Regions from separate parts of the Homo sapiens genome. Here all the other regions are linked to region 7. Evidence: promoter capture Hi-C in 16 types of primary human blood cells and fetal thymus (Javierre and others, 2016). All regions are on one chromosome and are shown on one strand. Each heading gives the region's core, a stretch centred on a gene start or on the middle of the fragment in contact. The rest is flanking DNA. Distances are from core to core; before and after follow the strand shown.

The links. Contacts are between HindIII fragments. The CHiCAGO score rates a contact against its expected background, and 5 or more counts as called.
Region 1: a contact is called between a fragment that was not itself captured here and the fragment with the promoter of DENND3 in region 7, in 2 of 17 cell types (naive B cells and total B cells). The highest score is 5.5, in naive B cells.
Region 2: a contact is called between a fragment that was not itself captured here and the fragment with the promoter of DENND3 in region 7, in 1 of 17 cell types (naive B cells). The highest score is 5.3, in naive B cells.
Region 3: a contact is called between a fragment that was not itself captured here and the fragment with the promoter of DENND3 in region 7, in 2 of 17 cell types (total B cells and naive B cells). The highest score is 5.5, in total B cells.
Region 4: a contact is called between a fragment that was not itself captured here and the fragment with the promoter of DENND3 in region 7, in 2 of 17 cell types (neutrophils and monocytes). The highest score is 10.0, in neutrophils.
Region 5: a fragment that was not itself captured here is called in contact with the fragment with the promoter of DENND3 in region 7 in 2 of 17 cell types (neutrophils and monocytes); the score reaches 9.9 in neutrophils.
Region 6: a contact is called between a fragment that was not itself captured here and the fragment with the promoter of DENND3 in region 7, in 2 of 17 cell types (neutrophils and monocytes). The highest score is 9.6, in neutrophils.

Annotation. Positions count from the first base shown.
Region 1 is chr8:140,931,283-140,935,405 of GRCh38, reverse strand. The region is part of intron 1 of PTK2 (protein tyrosine kinase 2); the gene reads left to right. Among named protein-coding and RNA genes, the nearest start is that of PTK2, 68 kb to the left of the region's middle. The HindIII fragment of the contact is 8,898 bases long and covers 1-4,123 here.
Region 2 is chr8:140,885,591-140,889,316 of GRCh38, reverse strand. All of the region lies in intron 3 of PTK2 (protein tyrosine kinase 2), which reads left to right. Among named protein-coding and RNA genes, the nearest start is that of PTK2, 110 kb to the left of the region's middle. The HindIII fragment of the contact is 5,639 bases long and covers 1-3,726 here.
Region 3 is chr8:140,960,969-140,964,686 of GRCh38, reverse strand. The region is part of intron 1 of PTK2 (protein tyrosine kinase 2); the gene reads left to right. Among named protein-coding and RNA genes, the nearest start is that of PTK2, 38 kb to the left of the region's middle. The HindIII fragment of the contact is 4,308 bases long and covers 1-3,476 here.
Region 4 is chr8:141,277,160-141,280,894 of GRCh38, reverse strand. The region is part of intron 1 of SLC45A4 (solute carrier family 45 member 4); the gene reads left to right. Among named protein-coding and RNA genes, the nearest start is that of SLC45A4-AS1, 24 kb to the right of the region's middle. RefSeq lists enhancers at 2,118-2,197, 2,208-2,277, 2,044-2,853. The HindIII fragment of the contact is 2,910 bases long and covers 473-3,382 here.
Region 5 is chr8:141,298,280-141,302,329 of GRCh38, reverse strand. All of the region lies in intron 1 of SLC45A4 (solute carrier family 45 member 4), which reads left to right. Among named protein-coding and RNA genes, the nearest start is that of SLC45A4, 8.0 kb to the left of the region's middle. RefSeq lists enhancers at 839-1,687, 1,688-2,537, 2,580-3,286. The HindIII fragment of the contact is 1,255 bases long and covers 1,453-2,707 here.
Region 6 is chr8:141,327,095-141,330,642 of GRCh38, reverse strand. No RefSeq gene overlaps it. Among named protein-coding and RNA genes, the nearest start is that of LINC01300, 12 kb to the left of the region's middle. RefSeq lists enhancers at 465-999, 1,000-1,536. The HindIII fragment of the contact is 5,383 bases long and covers 1-3,548 here.
Region 7 is chr8:141,127,339-141,130,123 of GRCh38, reverse strand. DENND3 (DENN domain containing 3) reads right to left here and starts at 1,535. Exons shown (of 23, transcript NM_001352890.3): 1 at 1,315-1,535. The coding sequence starts at 1,416. DENND3-AS1 (DENND3 antisense RNA 1) reads left to right here. Exons shown (of 2, transcript NR_183310.1): 1 at 1-100. RefSeq lists enhancers at 444-1,274, 2,108-2,785 and a silencer at 1,130-1,989. The HindIII fragment of the contact is 7,380 bases long and covers 1-2,785 here.

The DNA of each region.
Region 1 (4,123 bases), core at 331-2,830, 190 kb after region 7:
AAGAATCTGTCAGGATAAGTCACTCTGAGGCATAGGTGCTTACCTCTGGACCTGGGGTGCTTGCCTTCAGTGAATTGTAATCCTGATTCTTGATTCCTTCTTGAGTTGTTGATATGAATCATTTTTTCTTTTCCACAGTAGCTCCTGCTATAATATGCTCTGGGGCCCTGGGACATTTCATGGGTGTAAAGTAGCTTTTTTCCTTCTGTTTGGTTCTATCGTTTATGGACAGTTTGTCTAATAGATATAAAATAAACATTTATATGTTGTTGAAAAGTTGTTCCTATCTCCCCCTTTCTTTAATGCTCTCATAGTTCTAATTAGCTATACACATTTAACAATTGTGATAATACTTTTAACCTCTGATTGACAACTTACTTAAGATCATGTGTCACTTGTTAATGTTGTAATTGCAGTGCTGATTCAAACTTCAAAATGGAGTTTTTTATGTCCTCCTTTTCTGCATAAACACAGTAACAGTCTAATCTCTCTAACTCCATTTTGATATCTCTTTCTTTTCCCTACAGAAAAGAAAACATCTTGCTAGAGAGAGATCAATAGAGAGTTGTTTTCAGAAGTGAACTTTATATGCAGAAAATAGGAATAAGTCTATAACAACAGATGGTCAGAAAATTTCATCACTGTCATAGCAGAGGCTTAGCAGAATATAACTTGATAAACACTACTTGTTTAAAACTTTTGAGGCCGTTTAGCAGGAACATTGGGGAGGTGTTATTTCTCATGGGTGGTTTAGATCTCTTAGAGCGTTCTGGGCCATTGTGAGGTCTTGTGCATTTGTTCTGAGTCAGATGGGAAGCCACTGGAGGATCTTGAGCAGAGGCGTGACGTAAATTTTAAGAAACTTGTTGGGATGGTTGTGTTCTAAAGTTAAGGAATCAAGGATGATGTCAAGGTATTTTCATTAGCAGCTAGGAGAATGGAGTTGCTAATTTCAAAAAAAAAATTTATTTTTTTATTTTTTAGAGACAAAGTCTCCTTATGTTGCTCAGGATGCTAGAGTGCAGTGGCTATTCACAGGTGTGATCATGGTATGCTGACAGCCTCAGACTCCTGTCCTTAAGCTGTCCTCCTGCCTCAGCCTCCTGAGTAGCTGGGACTACAGGCGCATGACACTGACCCCAGTGCTATTTACTGATTTGGGGAAATCTGTTTCAGGATTAGGTTTTGAGGGGAAAGCCAAGGGTTTATCTTCAATTTCTTATAATTGTAAACAAGATTTTAGACCAATGATTTATTAGATATATGATTTCTTTTCTGTAATGTTTATAGTTCATTTAGGAATTTTAGTTATTTATTTGTGTTTCTTTTTCTTTCTTGGTTGATCTTCTAGAACTTGTTGTTTCTGAATACCAACTGGTGGCTTTTATTTGTTAAAGGTATTTTTTTTTGTCCTTTAGCTCTATGTCATTTATTTTATATTTATCGGCTCCTTTTCCTTATCTTCCTCGTGTGTGGCACTTTAATCTTTGTCTTGTAAGACTTGAAAATCTCTACTCACTGCCTTTAGAGGCTTTGTGTCTTTTTTTTTAAATTGACGTATAATTCTCATACTATACAATGAGTACAATCACCACCATCAATTTTAGAAATTTCCCTCACCCCAAAAGAAAACCCCATACCCACCAGGAGTCACTCTTTATTCCTTATCTTCAGCCCAAGGAAACCACTAACCTACTTTCTTATAGATTTGCCTATTCTGGACATTTTATATAAAAGGAATCAGGCTGTATGTGGTCTCTTGTGGCTTCTAACACTTGGCATAATGTTTTCAAGGTTCATCCATGTTGTAGCATGTATCAGTACTTCATTCCTTTTCATTGCAGAATAATATTTGACAATAAATACACCTTTATACAGTAAGAATACTAATGCTCTAGGATTTAGCGTTCCAAAACCTTGCCTGATTTTTCTGTCTTCTGGCAGCAGTTTTCTGTGAATGCACAGCCTAGATTCTCCACCTGCTTCTTCTTCTCAGAATTGGTAAATACATACCAAAGGTAAAAGTAAATGCAAAAGATCAGCTGAACTTCTGTGGTTTTGAAGTTTTTTAGCCCCTCCTGTTCTTGCTGTCTTCAAACAGATGATTTTTATATTTTATGCAGTTCTTCTGTTTTTTTCTAAAGGAAATGCTCTTCTATTGCCAGCTGTTGCATCTGTCTTGGATTTAGAAATCTCAAGTCTTTTTTTTTTTTTTCATTACTGTTGTTAGAGATCCTGGTTTTAAAAAGTCAGGGGGCCATGTGCGGTGGCTCACACCTATAATCCCAGCACTTTGGAAGGCTGAGGTGGTTAGATCATCGGAGGTCAGGAGTTCAAGACCAGCCTGGCCAACATGGTGAAACCCCATCTCTACTGAAAATACAAAATTAGCCGGGTGTGGTGGCACACACCTGTAATCCCAGCTACTTGGGAGGCTGAGGCAGGAGAATCACTTGAACCCAGGAAGCAGAGGTTACAGTGAGCCGAGATTGCCCCACTGCACTCTAGCCTGGGCGACAGAGCAAGACTTCATCTCAAAAAAAGGGGAAGGAAGACTCTTAGTAAGCTAGCTGTATACAAACCCCCGTCTTGTTTGTCTTCTGTTGTACCCTGATGAGGCAGTTGATTTTAGTCTCTGCTGCTGTTAGTCAGGATCCTTGGACAGAAAAAGAGTGAATGAATACATTATTTCTGCTGTATCATAGAAGATGCAAATATCCATAATTTATTGATTTTGCTAACAAGTTTTTATATGGCATGCTTCCTTTGAAATTCAGACATTTTATGAATTCAAGAGTTTGCTGGTCCAGTGTAAAAATTACATTGTAATTATTTCAATTAAACTAGATATGGCTTTGACAGTTTTGCTTACTGTAGTTCTGGTCCCTGAAAAAAGAAATGGTGGCTCACATCTGTAATCCCAGCACTTTGGGAGGCTGATGCGGGTGGATCACTGGAGGTCAGGAGTTCGAGACTGGCCTGGCCAAGATGGTGAAACCCCCTCTCTACTAAAAAATACAAAAATAAACTGGGTGTGGTGGTGGGCGCCTGTGATCCCAGCTACTTGGGAGGCTGAGACATGAGAATTGCTTGAACCTGGGAGGTGGTGGTTGCAGTGAGCCAAGATTGCACTACTGCACTCCAGCCTGGGCAACAGACTTTATCTCAAAAAAAGAAAAAAAAGAAATGTTAAATATCTTTATTCTTAGAGTGAAACTTTAAAAATTGCGTGATTATGTTTAACATGCATTGAGCAGAAACATTTCTAGTTTCACAAACCCCTGAGAGTCATGTGGTTGAGGAGAATGGGGTCAGTGGGGGAAAGAGTAGAATGTGGAAATGGATCTTTGGACAGTGCCAGCAGGACTAGGCTGAGGCATTTGTCTTGACATAATATCTAAAGAGTCACCAAAACCCTCAGTAATTAAGATAAACAATAATTTAATGCAGCTTTTTTTTTTTTTTTTTTTTTTTTTTGAGACTGGGTCTCTGTCGCCCAGGCTGGAGTGCAGTGGCCCAATCATGGCTCATTATAGCCTCCACCTTCTGGGCTCAAACAGCCCTCCCACCTCAGCCTCCCAGGCTGGGACTATAGGTGTGTGCCACCACAACCAGCTATTTTAAAATTTTTTTGTAGAGATGGGGGTCTCACTATGTTGCCTAGGCTGGTCTCGAACTCCTGGGCTCAAGTGATCCTCCTGCCTTGGCCTCCCAAAGTGCTGGGTTTACAGGCATGAGTCATCACGCCTGGCCTACAGTATTTTTAAGAATCAAAAATTTATGCAAGAAAATCTATAGTGAACAATATACTTTTATTTTTATTTAAAAATTTTTTTTAAAACCACAAGGTCTTGTTCTGTCACCTAGGCTGATGTGCATTGGCACAATCATGGCTCATTGCAGCCTCAGCCTCCTCCGTCTCAAGCAATCCTCCCACCTCAGCCTCCTGAGCAGCTGGGACTACAGGCAGGCACCACCATGCCCAGCTAATTGTTTGGTATTTTTTTATAGAGTTGGGGTTTCATCTTGTTGCCTAGGCTGAAGATATATTTTAAAGTAAGTTTTAAGAAGGTATAGAAGAGTATGTAGAACACATTATATTGGTGTAATGCAAAAGAAACTG
Region 2 (3,726 bases), core at 917-3,416, 240 kb after region 7:
CAGAGGTTGCAGTGAGCTGAGATCGTGCCACTGCACTCTAGCCTGGGCAACAAAGTGAGACTGTCTCAAAAGAAAAAAAAGAAAAAAAAGATTTAAGGCTAAAGTCTTGTATATAAATTTTACATAATTTTTTGTTACCTCTAAATTTTAATATTAGCAAACTATTCAAATGGATTAATTATTAAAAATATGATAGCCTCTTTTTTTTTACAAACTCTTTATGAAGCTGGTTAGCTTTTTTGCGTTTTCTGTTTTTTTTCTACTTCTGTGTTTTACTTTTAACTTTATAAAACACTGTCATTTGGTAGAAAGGCCTGCAATGAGCATCCTGCCATAAGGTTTATCAGATAATTCATACTGGAAAAAAACCTTGTAGATGTAACTTTATGTAAGGCTTTTAGTGTATGTTCTAGTCTTTGTAGATTTCAGATACAGTGAATGAGGAAACTCTCCAATAAAACCATTGTATCAGCCCTAATGAACTCTAGGGCATTCATACAGGAGGGAAACCTTTCAAAGATTATGAATTTGACAAGACATTTAGCAAAAATGTTCAAGACTTACATCAGAAGACTCACCTAGGAAAGATTTTAACAGATGTGCCATGGTTTTAGTATCAAACTTTCTGCATGTAAGGGGATTACTACCATAGAGTCAGTGTCACTGCAGGCATGTTAGCCTTTAGCCAATGTTAAAAACTTCCTAGTCATACATTCATATTGTGAAGAAAAATTTACATCAGATACAAATGTATAAGTTATCAGAACTCATTTAGCAAACTTGTGAAGATCAATCTGATCAAATCTATGTGGCCACAAACAACGTGTTTTATTTCACAGTAATTGGCAAATTATCAGTCAGTGATTTTCAGATTGAGGCAGAAAAATCACAGTTGGCATTGAATTCACCATAGCCCTTTCCTGGGATAGCATGAGGTTCTCATGATACTGAGTCACTGTAATGGAAGATTGGATATTATTCATAACCAACTTCCATTGAATGCTTTAATGCTATAACATTTGAAAATGCAATATCATAATTGTAAATTAATGAGTGGATTTGTACATCTGAACAAAGGGACTGAACAACATAAGAGGTATCAGACAAAGGAACATTATGGATACAGAGTATTGTCAGGAAAGAGAAAAATGGAAGAAACATGACAGCATTTGAAGGCCTGATGACCTTAGAACAGGAAGTGGGGATTGTAGGATTTAGATTTAAGGATTAGATTAGTAAAGAATCCAAGTATAATTACTTGTCAGAAAGAAACTGACCATTGAATAGCATCAAAGGGGATGCCACACAACTATTTTCTGAAATGATACGGCTTATTGTTATTCAGGTACTGAATAACTCGATTCAGTCTTAAACTCATTATAGCTACGTTGCCCATTATCGTAGCCATGTGCAGTTGTTGAGCACTTGAATGTGGCTAGTCTGAATTGACATGTGCTATAGTATAAAAATATATACCACATTTCAAAGAGTAAGAAAACAGAATAAAATATATCAATGTGTTATGATTACATGTTAAATGATAATACTTTTGATATAGTAGGTTAACTGAACTATATTACTGAAATTGAATTTACCTGTTTGTTTTTATTTTATTTTTTTACTGTGACTACTAGAAATTTTAAAATTACTTATGTGGCTTGCATTATATTTCTGCTGGACAGTGGTGTTCTGTAGAAAGCAAATTCTCAGAAAGACTGCTTGGTTCAGAAAAAACAAAACTTTTTGAGGAGTTTAAAGATTTGTTTTCACCAAGAATATCTGGATTTTTGTAACATTTCATTATAGAGCCTTTATCATGCTTCAGTTAATAAGTATTAGTGCTTTTACAATTATGTGTGCTAATTGTATGTTAATTAATGTTTGATTGTTGAAAAGATTTGCAAGATTTCACAGTTTATAGGCAAAATCCATTACAGCAACAGTAGTAAAATGATACTCATTGAAGTGATCTGGAGATCTTGGGTACAGGCTTCTTGGCCTTGGACATGATTTTTCTGTAGATGTGAAACCATTACTGGCTTATGTGTGAAGCACCTCAGTATGAGGAAGTGGTGGGGATCTGTGAGAGGGTCACACAAGCACTCTCCATCTACGTAGCCAGCCTCAACCTGTGGACCTCCCCAGGTACTGCCAAAATCAGGTACACCTTGTCAGTCCAGTTATTATTACAAAATCGCACTGACAAGCTGGTATATTCTGCCCCCCAAACAGCTCAGGGTCCCATGATCACAAACATCACTTATCTTGGCCATAGCTTTGGCCAAGTGTCAGTACCGTGCTTCAGGCAGCTCTAGAGATAAGTGTGGGGTCAATCTAGAACAGCCAAGAGAAACCCAGGCTGTACAATGTTGAATAAGACCAGTCATCTAGAAACATGGCAGTGATAATTCAGAAAAATAATGACATAAAATTCCAAATTCTACCAGAGAAATTCCCTACTTAGGAGAAAGAATGACGTTTACACCAGACTTTTCATCAGCAATGCTGGATGCAAGAAGACATTGGAACAGTATCTTCAAAGGGCTCAGGGAAAATAACATGTACTTTAGAAGTCTATATCAGATAAATTATTAATCAAGATAATGTGAAATGAAGGTATCTGCAGAGAAGTAGTGACATAGAAAGCTAATAGCATGGGCTCTCTTTGAAAAAACAATTAGATGATATAATGCAGCGTGGAAAAAAGTTGAGCCCATAAGAAAATACTGTAGCAGGATGCAAGAGACAGTGGTCCATTGTCATACTTGCTGCCTTGTATGCTGTCTTGTACCTCTCTTAATGTCCCCGTAGTCTCTTGAATCTACCACCATGATTTAATCCAACCTTCTGCCTATTCTCCACCTGTCGCCATCCTGTGATTGGTTACATTCTAGATTTGCAACCTTAGTGCTACCCAGCTGTCATGCTCTATCCCCCCATCTTGTTCTCTCCTAGACAACCATTTCATACCTCGTCCACTTTCTTCAACCTGCAGTACTTGGAAAAGTCCACACATTTCTATATCTTCCCTTTCCCCAACATTTGTACCTCACTTCTCTGTCTTTACACTTCTTGCTACAAAATAACCATCCAGTGCTCCAGTCAAAGGGTTACCTCATCTTTTAGTTACTCAGATCCATTTGCAATCGTCTTTTATTCCTCTTTTGCTCTCAAGCCATATCGAATACATTAGCTAATCCTGTCCACATTATCTTCAAAAATATATCCAGAACCTACCCATTTCATATTGCCTCCACTGCTACCCCTTTCTTTGAGCTCTTCTTCAGTAGCTGCCTTAAAATGTCTCTTCCATACATTATGGCATGGTATCCTAACTGACATCTTGTTTCCCTACTTGCTCTCCTTAGTCTGTTGACAACCCAGCAGCCAGAATGATCCTGGAGAGATGAAAGCCAGAGCACTTCACTCCTCCACTCAGAACCCGGTTTCATTTAGTCAACATGCACGTCCTTTGAGAGTCTCACCCATCTCCCCCATCCTGTCCCATCATGCCCTGTCACCTCTGTCCTAGTCACTCACTTTTTCTTTCTGCTTCCTGTTTCTCTAACATACTAATCACCGAATCAGTGATTTGCTTAAATCCCCCCAAGAGCTCCCCATTTCTCCCAGACTAAAAGCCAGATTCCTTTTGTGGCCTACAAGGACCTACGGGATGTGGCTCCTTGCTTGTTCTCACCCTGCCCTTACTAACTCTGCCTGCCAGGG
Region 3 (3,718 bases), core at 73-2,572, 170 kb after region 7:
TGCCTGTGATCCTAGCACTTTGGGAGGCGGAGAGAGGCCAAGACGGGTGGATCTCTTGAGTCCAGGAGTTTGAGACCAGCCTGGGTAATATAGTGAGACTCCCCTCTCTACCAAAAAAAAAAAAAAAAAAAAAAAAAAATTACCTGGGGCTGGGGGTGGTGCCCACCTGTGGTCCCAACTACTTGGGAGACCGATGTAGGAGAATCGCATGAGCCTGGGAGGTTGAGACTGCAGTGAGCTTGATCGCATTGCCACAATCCAGCCTGGATGACAGAGTGAGACCCTATCTCCAGAAAAAAAAAAAGAAATTAGCTGGCGCGTGATGGTGTGGCTGAGGGAGGCTCAGGTGGGAGGATTGCTTGAGCTCAGGTGTCTGAGACTACAGTGAGCTAGGCTCTCCTCACTGCACTCCAGCCTGGAAGATAGAGCAAGACCCTGTCTCTTAAAAAACAGGCAAATTATTGATTATAGTTCAGTGGGCTAAATCCTGTGGTAGAAACATTCATGCATAGGGTGGTGCATCCACATCAGTCTTAGGTGGGAGGAGGGTCATGGAAGGCAGATTTTTGGTTGCACTTGAACTGAACTTTGAAGGATGATTAGGAGTAAGCTGGGTGGGGGAAGGGAAGAACCTACCAGGCAGAAGGACTGGCATAAGTAAAGGCTTGTTTGTAAGAAGTAGCATGGCACATTAAGGGAAGTTGAGGTTGTTCAGTATGACCCTACCGTAGAAAAGGAATGAGCAAGTGATGGAAAATGAGATAGGAAGCTAGTGGTTTGGTTCTGTTCTTTCTCTCCTTCTCCCTCTTAACCCCCTAACCCCCCTCAAGTTCTCCTCTTCCCTGTTCCCCCTGGAATATTCTATTTGGAATGGGATGATGAGAAATATTTTGAGGAGGAAGAGGTAAAGGCTTAGAAGGTATGCTTTGATGCCCCAGATAAATGTCAGCAGAATAGGGAACACAGTTGGAAAATTGCTTTTCAAAGCAAAGAATTTCTAATATCCCTCAAAGTAATGAGAGCTGTTGAAGACTTTTGAGCGGTTGACATAATTTGTTTTAGGAAAGGTCACTCAGGTAGGTACTGGTGAAGAAGTTGAATTGAAGGGGGCACTGTAATAAAGAAAGTAGATCAGTTAGGAGGTTTTGTTTTGTTTTTGTTTTTGCAACACTGTAACTTGAATTAAATGGATGGCCATAGAATTGGAGAGCAGGGATCTTAGGGGTGAGAGATAAGTGAGGTGAAAGAGTTAGATTGGGCAACTGGTCATGGTTAAGGGCAGGATTTTTGGGGTCAGACACCTGAATTTGATTCTTAGCTTGGCTTTTTATTATTATGTGACTTTGGAAAATTAGATAACCTTCTAAATCTGAACTTCCGGAAATGTGTAACAGGAATAATTCCTTGAGAGGTTATTTTGAGGACTGAGTACTCCTAAGACTCTTAGCACAGAGTATAGCTCGTGGAAAGAATTAGTTAAGAGGAGATGCTATTATAAGCTGTTCATTGTTATAGGGTATATATTTATAGGAGGAAGAACATATATAGGCTGTATTAGAGGGAGAGGCAAGGCCTTAAGGTTCGTGCGTGTTGGTATCAGTGGTCTGTTACAGGGCTGAGGAAACTATAGCACGTGGGCCAAATCTGCTTTTGTAAATATGTATTTATTGGGATGCATTCAAATTGTTTATATATTGTCTATGGCTGCTTTTGCACTGCAAAGGGAATGTACTTAACACAAAGAATAGGGTCCCCAGGAGAGCACTTAAAGGGCAAGCAGAGGAAGCCTAGGTAGGTTGGGTTGGGGGGGGGGACCTACAAGGGCCAGGAAGTTTGTAGGATTGCCATGAGTGAGGAGTGTCACTAATGCTGGGAAAGGAGGGTGGACATTCTGTGGTTTTTTTTTTTGAGGGAGTCTCGCTCTGTCACCCAGGCTGGGGTGCAGTGGCGTGATCTCAGCTCACTGCAAGCTCCGCCTCCCCGATTCACGCCATTCTCTGCCTCAGCCTCCCGAGTAGCTGGGATTAGCCACCACGCCCGGCTAATTTTTTGTATTTTTAGTAGGTTTCACTGTGTTAGCCAGGATGGTCTCGATCTCCTCACCTCATGATCTACACGCCTCGGCCTCCCACAGTGCTGGGATTACAGGTGTGATGACTGTAGAGTATGCTCGAGCTGTGTGTCCTATACAGGAGGCCCCTCAGGCCCCTCACAGAGTATGTGTGTTTGTAGTAGGCATAGTATACTGATAGAGCTTTTGGCATTGCTGGATGCTTGTACACAGTTTTCTTTAGCTCTTTACTATGGGACTGCTGTCTTCATTGCCACACAAAACAGCAAGAATTTGTTGAAATGAGTAAAAATAACCACATAATTTTTTTCCCTCCCTCCCTCCCTTCCTCCCTCCCTTCCTCCCTCCCTTCTTCCCTTCCTCCCTTCCTTTCTTCCTTCCTTTTTTTTTTTTTTTAAATTTTGAGACAGAGTCTTGCTCTGTTGCCCAGGCAGTGGTGTGATCTCAGCTCACTACAACCTCCACCTCCCGGATTCAAGCGATTCCCCTGTCTCAGCCTCCTGAGTAGCTCCTGGCTAATTTTTGTATTTTTTTTAGTAGAGACGGGGTTTTGCCATGTTGGCCAGGCTGGTCTTGAACTCCTGGCCTCATGTGATCCACCTGTCTCTGCCTGGGATTACAGGCATGAGCCACCACACCAGGCCCAGATATTTTTGAGTTTAAAGATACTAACTCAATAAATTGCAAAAGAGGAGGCAGTTTTCCTAAAACACCACCACTCCAGTTGGGTTGTATGGTTGAAGGGATAAACCTCTAAATGAAATCTTTAAAAGAATTAAACCTATAAAAGAAACCTTTGCTTTCTTTTATCTAAAATTTCCTTACCAGGCTTAAATCATTGCCTTTTAAAAAATGTGTACTATAAGTACTTTTTGTTAGGTGAGCTCTCTAGTATTAACTTGGTGAGACTGATTTGTAGTACCAAATCTTTTTTTTTTTTTCTTTTTTCTTTTTGAGATGGAGTCTCGCTGTGTCGCTCAGGCTGGAGACCAGTGGCGCGACCTTGGCTCACTGCAACCTCCACCTCCCAGGTTCACGCCATTCTCCTGCCTCAGCCTCCCAAGTAGCTGGGACTACAGGTGCCCGCCACCACGCCCGGCTAATTTTTTTGTATTTTTAGTAGAGACAGGGTTTCACTGTGTTAGCCAGGACGGTCTCGATCTCCTGACCTTGTGATCCACTCTCCTTGGCCTCCAAAAGTGCTGGGATTACAGGTGTGAGCCACCACGCTCGGCCTGTAGTACCAAATCTTAAAGGAAACTTTGCATTTGGAATTTGAAGTTTATCTGGAGATTTGGTATGGTTGCTGAGTTATTTTTAGGATTAGATACATTTCTTGGAAATAGCAAATGTAATAACAAATTGTGTGGCTATATAGTTGGCTGTTTGATACCATCCATAAGCTTAGCAAAGTGTGGTGTAGTTATTTGCCTGTCTTCGAGGGAAATAAATGTAAAAGGCATGTATAACTTGCTCACAGTGCCCAAACTTGCTCTAGTGATAGAACTAGGACTGGAATTCAGGTTTCTTGAATTTGATTTCAGATGTCTTTTCTATATATCTGCTGCTTTTCTGACTTTAAAGTACATTTCCAAGGAAAAGTGCTCTTTATCTATAAAGTACTTTTTTATTTTTGAGACAGAGTTT
Region 4 (3,735 bases), core at 678-3,177, 150 kb before region 7:
CTTTTCCTTTCCCTCCCCTGGGAGAAGCAAGGTCGTGCTAAGACAGTCCTTCGGGAGGTGCCCGGACAGGGACCTGCTCTCTGCACACCCACCTGTTGGGGAGGATTCCAGTTACCTGTGCGAGTCAGGCTCTGTCCTGACAGCTTGCTTCCTGTGTGTGTGGAGCTGCACGCTGTCGCATTACACGAACAAAAACCCCCATGGTGGAGGTACGGGTGGGGCAAAAACACACCCTGCAGAGGGTGGGCCAGCCTAGCACCCACTCAGCCTGGCTGTTTGGAGTCTCAACCTGGGATTGCTGATAGCAGGGGCCCCGAGTGACCCACTGCCCTCAGAGCCGGCCTCAACACCATGTTGCAGGGGCCCCGCGTGACCCACTGCTCTCAGAGCTGGCCCCAACACCATGTTGCATTTGGTTACCCAGGTTACTTAAATGTCTTTCAAGAAAGTAAGTTGGAATCAAATCTAAGCTTGAATGCTCCTTTGTTCCCTTTTATTTCCAACAATCATCTTAAAACCTCTCCTTTTAGTTAAGTCCATTTTCCACCTATTCCTGTTTGCTGTGGGTGGCTTATCTGTTGCCAGGCGCCTGGCCATCAGGGATCCAGGAGACAGAGTCGCAGTCCCGCCCTCACGAGCCAGTGACCCCAGGACAGGGTGGGCAGGGGGCACGTGGGGCCCAGAGGATTGGTGCCCTTGCTCTGTCTCACTCACAGTGCCCAAGGTGAGTCCTGCTGCTCAGCTCGCAGGGGGCTGCATGTGGAGTGTGACACGGGGTGAGGGGCCAGCGTGGTGCTGGGTGCAAGGAGGTGCCTGGGGAGTCGAACTGATGTGCGGCAAGGCTGGAAGCAGTGCCTGGGCCCATGCCTCGCTGCCCTGTGGCCGCCGCTGCTGCCGCTGGTTCTTGCTTTAGAACTGCTGTCTTGGCAGCTTTCACTTCTCATGTAGGCGAGTCCCAAGCTAATATTTATCCTCCAAAGTATCTTAACAATGCTAGATTGCTGAGTGTTTGGGGGGAACTTTATTAATCTTTGAAAGAGTTATTGTTACATTGATAAACTGAGGCACTGTTTACAATAGCCAGATTGTGTTTGGACTTGCAGCCTTTAATTCTGCCGTTAGTTTTTGTTCGCAGATGGAATTGTTTTGGCTGTTCTTGTAAAGACTCCTTTGTCCGTGTGGGTTTTGTTTGTTGCCGGCCAGCGCGGGGCGTGTGCCAGGGAGGGCAGCCTGGCCAGGGAGGGGTGCGCGATGCACCAGGTCAGGTGTTTCCACTGCATGATTGGCAGGCTTCTCGGGAATGCGGAATTGTGTACTCGAAGCCCCCAACTTTTTATGAATTGTCGGTTTACAACTGAAGGCATCTCCTTCCAGAGGGAAAGCTGGCCTCCCTCATCAAAGACTTGCAACGTATGTGAAAGAGCAAGTGACAGACGTAAGAATGGGGGTAGAGGGCATTGAGATGTGGTCCGTGGGATTGCAGGTGTAAAGGAAAATGACACTCTTAGCCGACTTGCTCCTTCAAACAAAGTCAGCTATGAGTCTGTCCTGCGGATGTTACTTTTCAGTAAAGCCAGACTTGTCCTGGCTCCCCTCCAGAGCCGTTTCCTTCACCTGGCAGCCATCCTGGGCTTCTGAGTAGGCGGATGGGAGGCAAGGAAAGGCCGCCTGGCACGGTGGGGATAGAGCCAGGGCCCCGAGGCCACAGGGGCTCCCACGAGCATCGGCCCTTCCTTTCCAGGCTGCGTGGGGGAAGGAGGTGAGAGGAGAACCAGCAGAGCCTGGAGGTGGGTCCCGCAGAATGTGGGAGCCGTCACAGAGGTGGGGGTCTTGGGGTGAAGGCTGGAGCTGGAAGGTGTGGAAGCCAGGCCCAGCCAAGCCTGTGGAGAGAAACTGTGCCCACAGGCTGGGGGCCAAGGTGGGGGCTGGGGCTTTGCTTGTCTGGCCTTGAAGGGGACAGAGCAGGCTGAGGTGTGCTGCCCTGGAGGCTGGAGCCCTGGCCCCCAGCAGCCTGGCAGTGAAATGTGCCTGGGGGCAGTAGGGACAGAGCCCGGGGCAAAGGATGCCCCCAGCAGGTCTGAGCAGCCCTTGCTGCATCCTGCAGTGCTGCCCACTCCCTTGCGGGTGCGTCTGTGCCTTGTTGAGACGTTAGCAAGGAGCCCAGCTTCCTCTCTGGTCAGCTGATTGCATTGCATTTTTCTGCTCACTCACAGTTCCTCTATTTCCTCCACTTGCTTGCCTGTGCTGCCCGTGGGGGCTGTGGTCAGCACTCAGCTGCTGGTGGCTAGGGGGCAGAGGCCTGTCTCTCCTTCGGCTGCCCGCCCCACCTCCACTGCAGGTGCTCACCCCTGTCTCACCAGTGTCCTCGTGGGTCGGCCGCCCGCCCCGCCTCCACCACAGGTGCTCACCCCTGTCCCGCCAGTGTCCTCGTGGGTTGTGCTCACCCCTGTCCCGCCAGTGTCCTCGTGGGTCGGCCGCCCGCCCCGCTTCCACCGCAGGTGCTCACCCCTGTCCCGCTAGTGTCCTTATGGGTTGTGCTCACCCAGTCTCGCCAATGTCCTCATGGGTTTCACAGACCGAGGAGTCCCAGTTGGCTCAGTTGTTGGGTTGCACCGAGATCCCATCGGGGAAACCCACTGCCTCACGAGTGTGGCCTCAGCCCAGGCTCCCTATGTGCTGCAGGAGCTCAGCTCAGCTGCCTGGTGCTGGGGCTGTCAGAGGGCGGGGCTGCTGCTGAGGCAGGTGCAAAAGTGTAAGGGTGTGTCCTGGAACTATTCGCAGATGAGAAGTGTGCTGTATTTAAAACAGTGACTTATAAGTCGGACATGGATGTTGGCATGCATCTGTAGTCCCAGCTGCTTGGGAGGCTGAGGCCGGAGGATTGCTTGAGCCCAGGAATTTGAGGTCACCAGTGAGCTATGATTGCACCACTACATTCTAGCCTGGACCACATGGTGAGACCTTATCTCTTAAAAAATTGTTTTTTTCACTTTGTGAGGCTGAAGCAGGCGGATCACGAGGTCAGGAGATCGAGAGCATCCTGGCTAACACGGTGAAACCCCATCTCTACAAAAAAAATACAAAAAAATTAGCCGGGCGTGGTGGTGGGCGCCTGTAGTCCCAGCTACTCTGGAGGCTGAGGCAGGAGAATGGCGTGAACCCGGGAGGCGGAGCTTGCAGTGAGCCGAGATCGCCCCACTGCACTCCAGCCTGGGGGACAGAGCAAGACTCCATCTCAAAAAAAAAAATGTTTAAAGATAACACAATTTGAAGATTTTTTTTTTTAAGAGTAAAAGGGTGGACTTTTTAGTGAACTAACAGTAAAATCTAAAACATCTAAAGTACGTGAATCATGTTGATTTTATCACGTCTGTGATAAGCTTTCAGGTCTCACTATCATTTGGAGTTCACATAAAGTAAATACAGTTTATTGATGAATTTGAGGACTCCATTGTGTCCAGAGTAGCTTGGCTTAATTATTTTTCTAGGTTTAAACACTGTTGTGTGTCAGCTTCATGAACCTTTGTCCATCACTTAGCAAGGTTTTAATATTCGGGCAGGGATCAGTTGACATTTCTGAAACTGGTCTTTTTGGTAGCCCATGATGGTCCTTTCATTCCGGTCCTCGCCGGACCCGGACCTGTCTTGTGTCCCCAGATGAGGAAGATTCTGATGAAGTTCACCAGTGTCACAGGATGCAGACAAAACGATGTCTGTCCACATGTGGCCGGCGTG
Region 5 (4,050 bases), core at 831-3,330, 170 kb before region 7:
CAAGATTGCGCCACTTCACTCCAGCCTGAGCGAAAGAGCAAGCCTCTGTCTCCATCTAAAAAACAAAAAAAACTTTGAAAAACTATAGACACATTTTTAAGTTGATGTTTAAATTTTTGGTCCTAATTTGAAACAACTGCAAAAGATGCAATTTCTAGTATAATGTTGGCATTTAAAAGTAACCATTGTATTGCTTTTTAAAAAGTATCCAATGTTAAATATCCTAATGATACCTACCATCAGTCACCCTTTTAAAAAATGAACAAATTGTTCTTAACAGTCTTGACAAGGCAGTTTTTTTCTTTGTGAACTTGTATGTTTGCTCCATTTGAAAGTCTTTTCATCCCTCATTCTTTTTTTTCTTTTTTGAGACAGTGTTTCCCTCTGTCACCCAGGCTGGAGTGCAGTGGTGGGATCAGGGCTCGCTACAGCCTTGACCACCTAGGTCTATGCAATTCTCTCTCTCCAGCCTCCTGAGTAGCTGGGACCACAGGTGTATGCTATCATGCCCAGCTAGTTTTTATTTTTATTTTTTGCAGAGATGGGGTCTCACTGAGTTGCCCAGGATTTTTTTTTTTTTTTTTTTTTTTTTTTTGAGATAGGGTCTCATTCTGTCCCCCAGGCTGGAGTCCAGTGGTGAGATCATGGCTCACTGCAGCCTCGACCTCCCCGGCTCAAGTGATCCTCCCACCTCCACCCTCCAGGTAGCTGGGCTTATGCCCAGCTAATTTTTCTTTGTATTTTTGGCAGAGACAGAGTTTCACCATGTTGCCCAGGCCGGTCATGAACTCCTGGCCTCAAGCGACCCTCCCTCCTGCCTCAGGCTCCCAGAGTGCTGAGATTACAGGCATGAGCCACTGCACCCGACCTATGGACTGTTCTCCATACTTCTCTGTGACAAAAGTATATATTGCAATTTAAAACATTTCTGTGATCATTAGGCTATGTTAACATCCAGAAGAATGTTTTATGTCATTGTAATTATCAGTACAGAATTGATCACAGAAACATAAATATCATTGATCTTGATAAACAATTACTAAATGCACAAAATACACCGGAAGGAGGTCTCAAAGAGCTGGGGGGTGGGGCCCGTTTAAGGTGCCTTAATTAAAGGGATAATTGAACTGTCCCTGGTACCGGGTACATCTCTGTTGCTGGAACGTTCCCTGGGAAGAGTGCCTTCCTCTTGTCTAGGCGGGGCAGGCAGGCTGGAGGTGGGGGCTCCCTGGGCACCGGGACTTTCTCCACAGCAGCTTCTCAGGCAGTCCAGTTTTAGGCAGGCGTTTGTGGGGACCTTGCGGCTCTCTGAGTTCCCCACACCGGAGGCCCCTCAGGATGCTCCTGTGTTTGCACGGGGCGCTTGCTGTGCTGTGTTCGCACACTTGGTCCACGGGTAAGGTCCACGCCACTTCGTCGAGTCACGGGGTCCGTGCTGCTCCATGTTAAGCTTTACTATTTAATTGCCTGTTTTCTAAATGCGCAGTGTTAAAGGGCAGAAGATGAACCATTTCACGAGTAAGCACGCTGCGGCATTTTCATCTGGTTGGGCTAAAATGTAAGACAGTGGAATTGTGCCTCGGGTTAAATTTTAATTTGACAGAAAGGTGTGTTAGAAGCAGAGAAGACTGACATGGCCAGACTTTAGATTTGCTAGAGGTTTTTGCCTGGCAGGAATCTGGTCACCCTGCTCCGCCCTTCTTCCTGCACAGGGCATCGCTGTGCCTGTTCCGGAGCGAGGCAGCTGGTCTCAGGCCATCAGGTTGCCATTAGGATCAGGGCCATGGGGTGGGTTGGGAAGGTGGGCCTCTGCCCGAGAACCAGATGAGGCTGGTCCGGGGCGTTGACACTTGGCATCCCTGAGAATTTGCTCAAATCTGGAGATGCTCAAAAAGTAGAAAGATTTACTATTTTTAGCCTTTAGACCTAATGAAATTTGGTAAGAAAATCAGTTTAGTAACCAAAAAACCACCACTTCCCATCCCACTCAGAAACAGCACGCTGAGGACTGAGAGCAGTAGAACTTTGCGTTGTGTGATGGTTTTATGACATAAGAGGAGATTTGACGGACCTGGGGTCTCTGGTGTCTCCCAGCTTTGTTGGAGGAAAGCAGGCTACTCGCCCAACTCTGTGGAATCGGTAATGTGGGTCCGGCTGAAGTTTTAACCTGTCTTCTGTCCTCAGGGCTGGCCATTAGGAGTCCACTAAGAATGCGTCACTTCCAATTCGGCCATGCAGCTATTTGGGGAGGCGATGATGTCGTCAGATCATGGGGCCAGTGCCTTCATTCCAGGGATGGGTGAGGAGAAGAGCAGTTCCACGGTCGTGTTCTAGGAATCCTGCGGTTTAAACAGTGAAGAACGGGACCAGGAAGACAGGCCAGCCCCTAATTACCCCCACAGAACCGGATTAAATCACCCTGGAAAGGGGATCCTCCATTGGTCCCTTCTCCAAAGCAGCAAATCCTTATATTTTCGTGGTATTTTGGGTATTAATACTGAAATCAATGTTTCAGTCTCTTAAAAGACTTTGAGAAACGTTTTGGCTGCTGAAGAAGAACAGGTACAGCAGAGTCCAGCTGGTTCTAGAAATTCCTGCCCTAACCTGAGGCTTTACTTCAGTATGCAAATCCGCTCCCAGCCAGGAGTACTAGAATAACTGCTAGTGGTTTTTTTCGTGTTGCTTACGTAAAACGGCATTAAAAGCTTGGAGTGTGGAAGTCCTCCCCCATCAGGGCCTGCGCACCACCACCCTCTGCTGGATGAAGCCGGATCCCGGGGCTGCGGCCACGGCCGCTCTGCTGTCCCTAACCGTGCCCATTTGAAGGGCAGCTCTGATTTGGTGGCGAGAACGACACCCACAGCTCAGGTGGTCTTGTTATGGACTTGCAGCCTGGAGCTGGTGTCTCTAGTGTGACAGGTGTCTCCCTAGGTAAGCCGAAGGGAATATCAAGGCTGTTGAAAACATGTCTAGTCCACTACTGAACTATTGAGGTGTCGAGAGTGTTTTTAATTCTTAAAGGCACGGGGCTCCCCGTCCGCTTTCTCCTTCCGTAGAAACATCATGAAGCCTGGCGTCCTCGTTGTGGGTGGGGTGCAGGGAGAGTTTATAGTCCGGGCTGGGCCCTCCTTGGCTTTGTGACCTTCCAGAAGCCACCCAGTGCTCGGAGCTTCTGCTTCCGTGTGGTAACCAGGGTGTGTGAGGGGTTTCTGTCTCCAGCACTCAGTAAGCGCCTGAGAAGGGGTCACAGCAGCACTCACGCTGCTAGACAGTGCGGCATCTGCATCCGTGCCGGGCGCCCAGCTGGGACCTCTGGAGCAGCGCCTGGTGGGGGCACTGGTGAGGGAGAGGAGCCACCGGATACGGCCGGCCTAGTGCAGTTGTGGGCCACTGGGTCGCACTGCTCATCAGCTCCCCCCACCCCCCACTGAAAAGTGCCGTTTGTCTTCTGCGTGGAGAAATGCAGCAGTGCCCTCCATGCCTTGGATTCGACTTTGAGGCACCTTTGCGGTCACTCCCCATGCCAGGTAGCTGCTGCTGGAGGGGGCTCTGTGGCCAGCCCTGCTGTTGGCCCACGCAGCATGCTAGTTCCCACACCCCTCCTCCCTGGCCAAGAGCTTGGAAGGAAGGACTCCTGGCTGCCACAGGTATGGGCAGCTGTGCCCAGCTGGCACTGCCCTCTGGGTTGGCTCCCTGGCTCCTGCGGAGGTCAGGGAGGAGGTGCTGCCGCTCCAATTTGTTTCCTTGTTTCTTTCGGGTTGGCCACTTGGCTTGCTGGGTTGAGCCTTTGGTGCCCAATTTTGCCCTCTTGTTGGGCACTGTCACTAGGCTCAGACTGTGAGCTAGCAGGGGACTGGGCCTGCTGTGGTATGTTCCATTCTGGAGATGGTCCCCAGGTGGCTGCTCAGTGCCAGGCTCAAGGCAGGTGCCTGAGAAGACAGCCATCTGGCCAGGGTGATGGGGCAGGCCTGGGAACCCCGAGGAGGGCATCTGACCCATGGCTGGGTGCGGAAAACGTCTGAGCAGGTAGTCCTTGAAAGAAACAGAATG
Region 6 (3,548 bases), core at 567-3,066, 200 kb before region 7:
AGCCCTGAAAGTGTGCAGAGGACACACTGCCTGCGGGCAAGCGAGGCTGTGGGACTAAGTGAGCAGTGCAAGGTGCACCGCCTGCCGGCAGCCCTGGGCAGGGACCCCCATCCATCTGCTATGTGCTCCCCCAAGGCCAACCAGGTGTCTCTGCTGGAGACAGTCACAGTTTGTGATCTGTTTAACTGATTAGTGTCTGCTACAGACTGCCAGCTCCAGGAGGGCAGGGTTCTGTCCTGTCCCTTCCAGCTGGACCCCCACGTCCTAGCATAGTGCCTGACGTATCACATGAGCTCGGCCCATATTTGTGAGAAGAAGAGGAAGAGGGAAGGAGAGGCAGGCACCCCAGGGCCGACACGGAGGGCAGGTTGGAGGGTCTGGGAAACTTATTCAGAAGATGGGCCTGGAGCATGAGTGAGTTAGCCTCCACAGCAGCTCAGGGTTTGAGTCCTGAGAGCAGAGTTCAGCGCAGGTGAGAAAAGGCCACATCCCAGGAATGAGGAGCTGGGCCTGACACTTTCCTACGTGGCCACGGACGGCTCTCCTTTAGGGACCACGTGCATTCGCTGCCATCTCTCTCTGGCCCTAGAAGGGACGAACACCCCGATACCTCCATTTTCACAGAGGAGCAGCGGGAGGCCCAGAGGTGAAGGTCCTCACCAGGCGTGCAGCTAGGGTCTGTTCCTAAACCTGTCCTGTGCTGCCCCAGGTGCGGACAGGGGCTGAGGCTGAAGCAGAAGCCGGCCTGCTTGCCTGCTCTGTGTTCCCTGAGAACCCTGGCTGTCTAGTGGGGGCAACCCTGGCATGCCCAGAGACCCCACGCTGTGGTGGGGGAGCCCCTCACAGGCCCAGGCGCAGGTGCATGTCCTCCCTGCCCCAGAGGCCCTCGCCTCCTGCCGCTGCTGGGGGCCGCCCTGGCTGAGCGCCCACCAAAGTGTGAAGTGCTTCCCGAGGGAGTCCATGGGGAAGCCCCAGCCCCGCCTGCTGTGGCTGCATCAAGGAGGCGGCCTTCCTTCCGGGCCCATCGCCTGGGCCTCTGGGGTCAGGCCTCGGGTCACCCTCCGGCTGGGACAGGAAGCCTGACATGAGTCTGGAGTTGGGGGTAGGGCAGGGCCGGGAGCCAGCCCAGCGGGATGGGGATGCCGGCTGTCTGGGCAGACACCGGCGGGGTCAGGGAGGAGGCTGGGGTAGGGTAGCTGCCCTGTGACCTGCCCCCCTGGGATGCCGCAGAGCCCAGGCCCGCTGCTTCCCTCCGGTGCAAGCTGGGATGGGCTGGCAGCTGAATGGAGGGCCAGGAACCCCACCACAGCTCCAGGCCAGGCACCATCATTCCTGCCCTGGAAAAGGGCCTCCTTCCAGCCTCTCTGACTCTACTCCGGCCACCACAGCCCGATGTCCACGTATGTGTCATCCAAGACTGCGGCCTGAGTCTCATCCAAGATGTCATACAAGACTGCAGCCTGTCTTCTGAGTACATGAGGTGCAGCCAGTCCGAATTGAGTTGTACGGTAAGCGTGGAATATGTCCCCACCTAGTATGAGACAGACTGTGAAATATCTCATTCATAATTTGTTATATGAATGACACGTTTAAATAATATATTGGATATATTAGGTTCCATAAAATATATTACTAAAATAATTTGCATCAAATTCTTTTTCCGTTTTCCTAACGTGGCTGATAGAAAATTAGAAATTATTCACGAGGCTGGCATGAGATTTCTAGTGGAGAGTGCTGTCTCTGTGCCGACAGAGGGAGTGTCTCCAATCTAATTCACACCAGTCCCTTCCTTGCTTAAATAAAGCCCATCAGGTCAGGGGAAAGTCTCCCATGTCCGGTGTGGACTTCTCCCAGGACTCAGTCTCACCTCTGCCCACCAACCCCACTTTCCAGCTGCCCCGTGGTGCCACATCTTCCAGCTGCCCCCGTGGTGCCACATCTTCCAGCTGCCCCTGTGGTGCCACTACTGGGCCTCTGCAAGCTGCTCCTTCTCTAGGAGTGCCCTTCCCTAACCCTGTTTCCTCCTTTGTCTAGGGATGTCTTCTGGGCTTTCACAGATGCCTGGAGTGTCACCCTTTCTTCAGTGCTCCCAAGCCCACCTCCCCTGTCCACCCCCAGCAGCCCCTGCCTCAGCCCCGCTGGCTTGGGCTCCAAGAGGCGGGGCACCGTGCCGGGGTCAGGGGATTGAGTAACTTGCCTCGGAGCATCAGTTTGCTCATCTGTGAAACAGGTGCCCCATTCACGGGACCCACATCCCAGGCAGTCACTCAGCTCAAGTGAGGTCATCTAGACAGCCCCCTCAGGGCTGCCGCACAGAAGGGAATCTTTGGCTGGAGGATTAAATGTCCAGGTCGCCAAGCTGGCCACCCTCCTGAACAGAGCTGGTGAATCTTGAAAGAAAAAGAAAAATTGTTTCCGGAGCAGCAGCCCCACACTGGGCCCAAAGGTGATCGATAAGCAGGTCTGGCCCGGCGCCTCTTAGTGCTGAGAGGGCTCCTTCACTTAGGGCAGGGCTGGCTTTCAGACCAAAGCTGGCCAGCCACCTGTTTCTGTAGGACTGCAAGCTAAAATGGTTTTTACATTTTTAAATGGTTGAAAAGAAAACTAAAGAAGGGGCCAGGTGCAGTGGCTCACACCTGTAATCCCAGTAGTTTGGGAGACTGAGGCAGGCAGATCACCTGAAGTCAGGAGTTCAAGACCAGCCTGGCCAACATGGTGAAACCCCGTCTCTACTAAAAATACAAAAATTAGCTGGGCGTGGTGATGTGAGCCTGTAATCCCAGCTACCAAGGAGGCTGAGGTGGGAGGATTGCTTGAACCTGAGAAGTGGAGGCTGCAGTGAGCCAAGATGGTGCCACTGCATCCCAGCCTGGGTGACAGAGCGAGACCCTGTCTCAAAAGACAAACAAACAAAACAAAAACCAAAGAACAAGAATATTACATGAAGTTCTGCTTTCAGTGTCCACGAATCAAGTTTCCTGGGAACTCAGCCACACCCACTCCTTTACATCTGCTGTAAGGCTGCGTGCAAACTGCAGCTGCAGAAGTGAGTCTTACAACACAGACCTCACAGCCCGCAAAGGAGAAAAGATTTACTCCCTGGGCCCTTCCCGAAAGAGTTGGCCAACCCCTGCCTTAGGTAATCCTCCAACCCCTTGGGTGGGTGCTATTGGCCAAGGGGGAAACCGAAGCACAGGGGGGCTAAGTGTGTCCCCCGAGGGCCCCGGCCTTCAGCTGTGCTCCTACCCATCATGATGCCTGGTGCCCGCCCCCATCCCCAGGACCCAGAGGTCAACTACAAGTCCTGCTTTTCCCGCCCACCTCACACCCGGTCTTGGTGTTGTCTTGTTTTGTTGGCTGTGTGCCGTGTTTAGGAATCACTCACACTCACCGGAGGCCCTCGTCTTCTGGGCGTCGCTCCGTGCCTCGCACACATCTAAACAACCTTAACAACCCCCTGTCACCTGCCGGGGCTGCCAGAACAAAGTTCCACTCGCTGGGCGGCTGAAACAACAGGCATTTATTGCCTCACAGCTCCGGAGGCCAGA
Region 7 (2,785 bases), core at 286-2,785:
CCCCAGAGGAAAGACGTTCAACGGCTGAGGAGACCACAGCGGCAACTAGGTCACTTCCTATTCGAAGAAAAAGGAGGAGATGCCATCTGGCAAATTCGAGGTAGGGAGACAAATCAATCGATGACGTTGCGAGGAGACAGAGGTCAAACGGGATCTACTGACATGACAGGGCGTTGAAGGGAAGGAAAAGTTGAGGGAAACGAGGAAACTATTTCCATAGGAGAATGCTTTTTCACTGAAGTCGAAACTGGCTTGGTACTGACGCCCAGCAGGGGAAACTCCCCGGACACTCACAGACATTCATCTGGTTACTTGCAGGAACATCTGCCTTTCCTGGTGACACCCTCTGCCCTGCAGTCTTCATTTTCCCTGGATAGCCCAGCGTCATTTAAATACTCAGAAGCCTCTCTGCCTTTCTATGCTGTTGTCTGCAAAGAGATGAACGGACCTGTGCAGACGGCTGGCCAGTGACGCCGGGATCTCTAGGTAACATGACCCAGTCACGGTGTCACAGACAGGCGGACCAGGAGGAAACCAGAGACACAGATGGATTCCAGGGAAAGCCAGCGTTACAGAATTAAGAAAAGCTGGGGAAGAAAAAGGAAAACGAGAATTTCCAAAACTGCCGCTTTCCCAGCAGAAGGGAGATGAAGTTGTCACTTTGGCTGCGAGGGTGCAGAGATGGAGGAAGGGTTGGGGGTGGGGGTGGTACCGCAAGGGAGAAAAATAGCTATAGGCTTCATCGCAAAGGGGTTCATGCAGAATACGCGAGGCCGGCGGCTAACTCTAAGATTGCTCTCTCGTTATTCTGTGCCTGGTGCAAAACCCACTACTCAGGGGACAACACATCCCAGCATAAAGAATGAAATCATTTCAGCAGCGAGGGCTGGGCCCGCTAGACCGTGAGGCTCCGGCGGCTTCCGCCCGTTGTCTGGTGCACCCCACCTTCAGAAGCACCTGCCCAAGATGGGAGCGACTGAAGAGAGAGGCCCCAGAGACTCTCCGAGGGGCGGCACCCCCAGATTCCCGGCCGGCGGACCAAGTTCGCAGCTCTCAAAAGACATGTCTCACACCAAGGGCCCCGGGCGGGGAGAGGAGAGAAGAGGGGAGGGGAGCAGGGCGCTGCTCCAGGGCACCTGCCTGAGCTCGGGCGCGATCCCCGGCCACAGGCGCGCGGGGTCACCGCCGGGGGACCGGGACTCAGCCCTCGGAAAGTCCGCGCCAACCCACAGGGCACCCGGGCGCCCGCTCTCCGACTGCTGTCCCGGCTGCCGACTCGTGGCCCACGTCCGCCTCAGTTTCCCCGCCCCTCACCTGCTCGAGACTTCGGAGACTGTCCCGGGGGGCGCCCAGCAGCGCGCAGAGCTCCAGCAGCCCCGAGGGCAGCGACAAGTGCGGCGACGCGGCCTCCGCCATGGCTGCCCGCCGCCCGCCGCCAGTACCGCACTCGGGCGCCTCAGCCGCGCAGTCGCCCGCAGACCCCTGGGGACCAGCCGCGCCGCCTGGGGGCCGGGGGCGCTGCGAGCGCCGTCTGCGGGGCGGGGCTGGAGGCGGGGCCTGGAGGGGCGGGGCCCGAGCCGAGGCGGGGCCTGGAGAGCCCCAGAGGATACCGCGGGGAGACAGAGTTTGGGGGCGGGGCTTGACTGGGCGGGGAGGTTCTGGGCGGGGCCTGGAGTGGCGTGCCCGGCCCTAGGGACCGGGACTTGGGGGCGGGGCCGGTCCTAGGGCGGGTGCTGCTGGAGACCCGCGCGCGGTCGTCATTTCCTAACCCGCCTGCGGGCCCTGGCGCGTGCGCGGCGTCGGAGCAAGCGGCCCCTTCCTTCGGCCCCGCCCAGCCCCGCCGGCCGCCCGCTCCCTGGGGAACCGAGGGAGGAATGGGCGGGGTCCTCAGGTGCCCGGCGACGTCATCCAGCCCCCAAGGCTCCAGGACGCAAAGGGTCCCCTGATCTGGCAGTCCCTGGACCTACCCTGGAGAGCGTGGGGGGACAAAGGCCGGACGCGCCGCCCGCTGCCGCCTCCAGGAAGCCCTCCCTTGCCAGGACAGTGGAGTTGGCCGGGTGTGGACAGCAGGAAGGGCCGGCGGGAAGGGGGGGTGGAAAGAGCCACTCCTGGTTAATAACTCTGCGGGGTTAACCTAGGGCCGGCCATACTCAAGTACGGACTTGAGTAAAATTCAGCAGGAAAAGGAGCAGGGTGGGCGCCGCTAGAGGGAGGCTTCAGGACTGAGGGTCAGAGGCCCAAGGCCTGGCAGGGCCCTTCCCTGGTCAGCTCCAGGCTTGGCCTGATGCCCGGTGGGCCACGGGCCTCTTCCAGCCTCAGGCTGACCCCAGAGAAAGAGGACAGCCCACAAGCCCGGGAGGCCGGCTTGCTGCCTGGTCATTGCTGCAGAGCCTGGAGGGGGCCTGCGCTCAGTCCCCGCTGACCGTCCCCTCCCTTGACCCTGCCATAGCCATCTGTGTAACCCAGGGGAAATTATTCCAAAGGGACTTCCACTTCTGATAATCTATGATTCTATTTTCTAAAAAACAAAACTCTAAAATGCTTAATGTCAAACATCTGTCATCAGCTGAACAGGAAAAGGAACAGTAAGTACAAAGCAAGGCAACATCAGAAAAGGGAGCCCTGAGGAATTTCTCCCTCCTTCCCTGAGCCGGGTGAGGCCGTGACTGCAGCCTGACTCACAGGTTTTATTTCACTTATTAACCTAAAGATGGTGAGGATCTGCTGGTTCTCCCCCAGGCCTGGAGGCTGCCTACCATCGGTGGCTCTCATCGGTGAGCTGAGG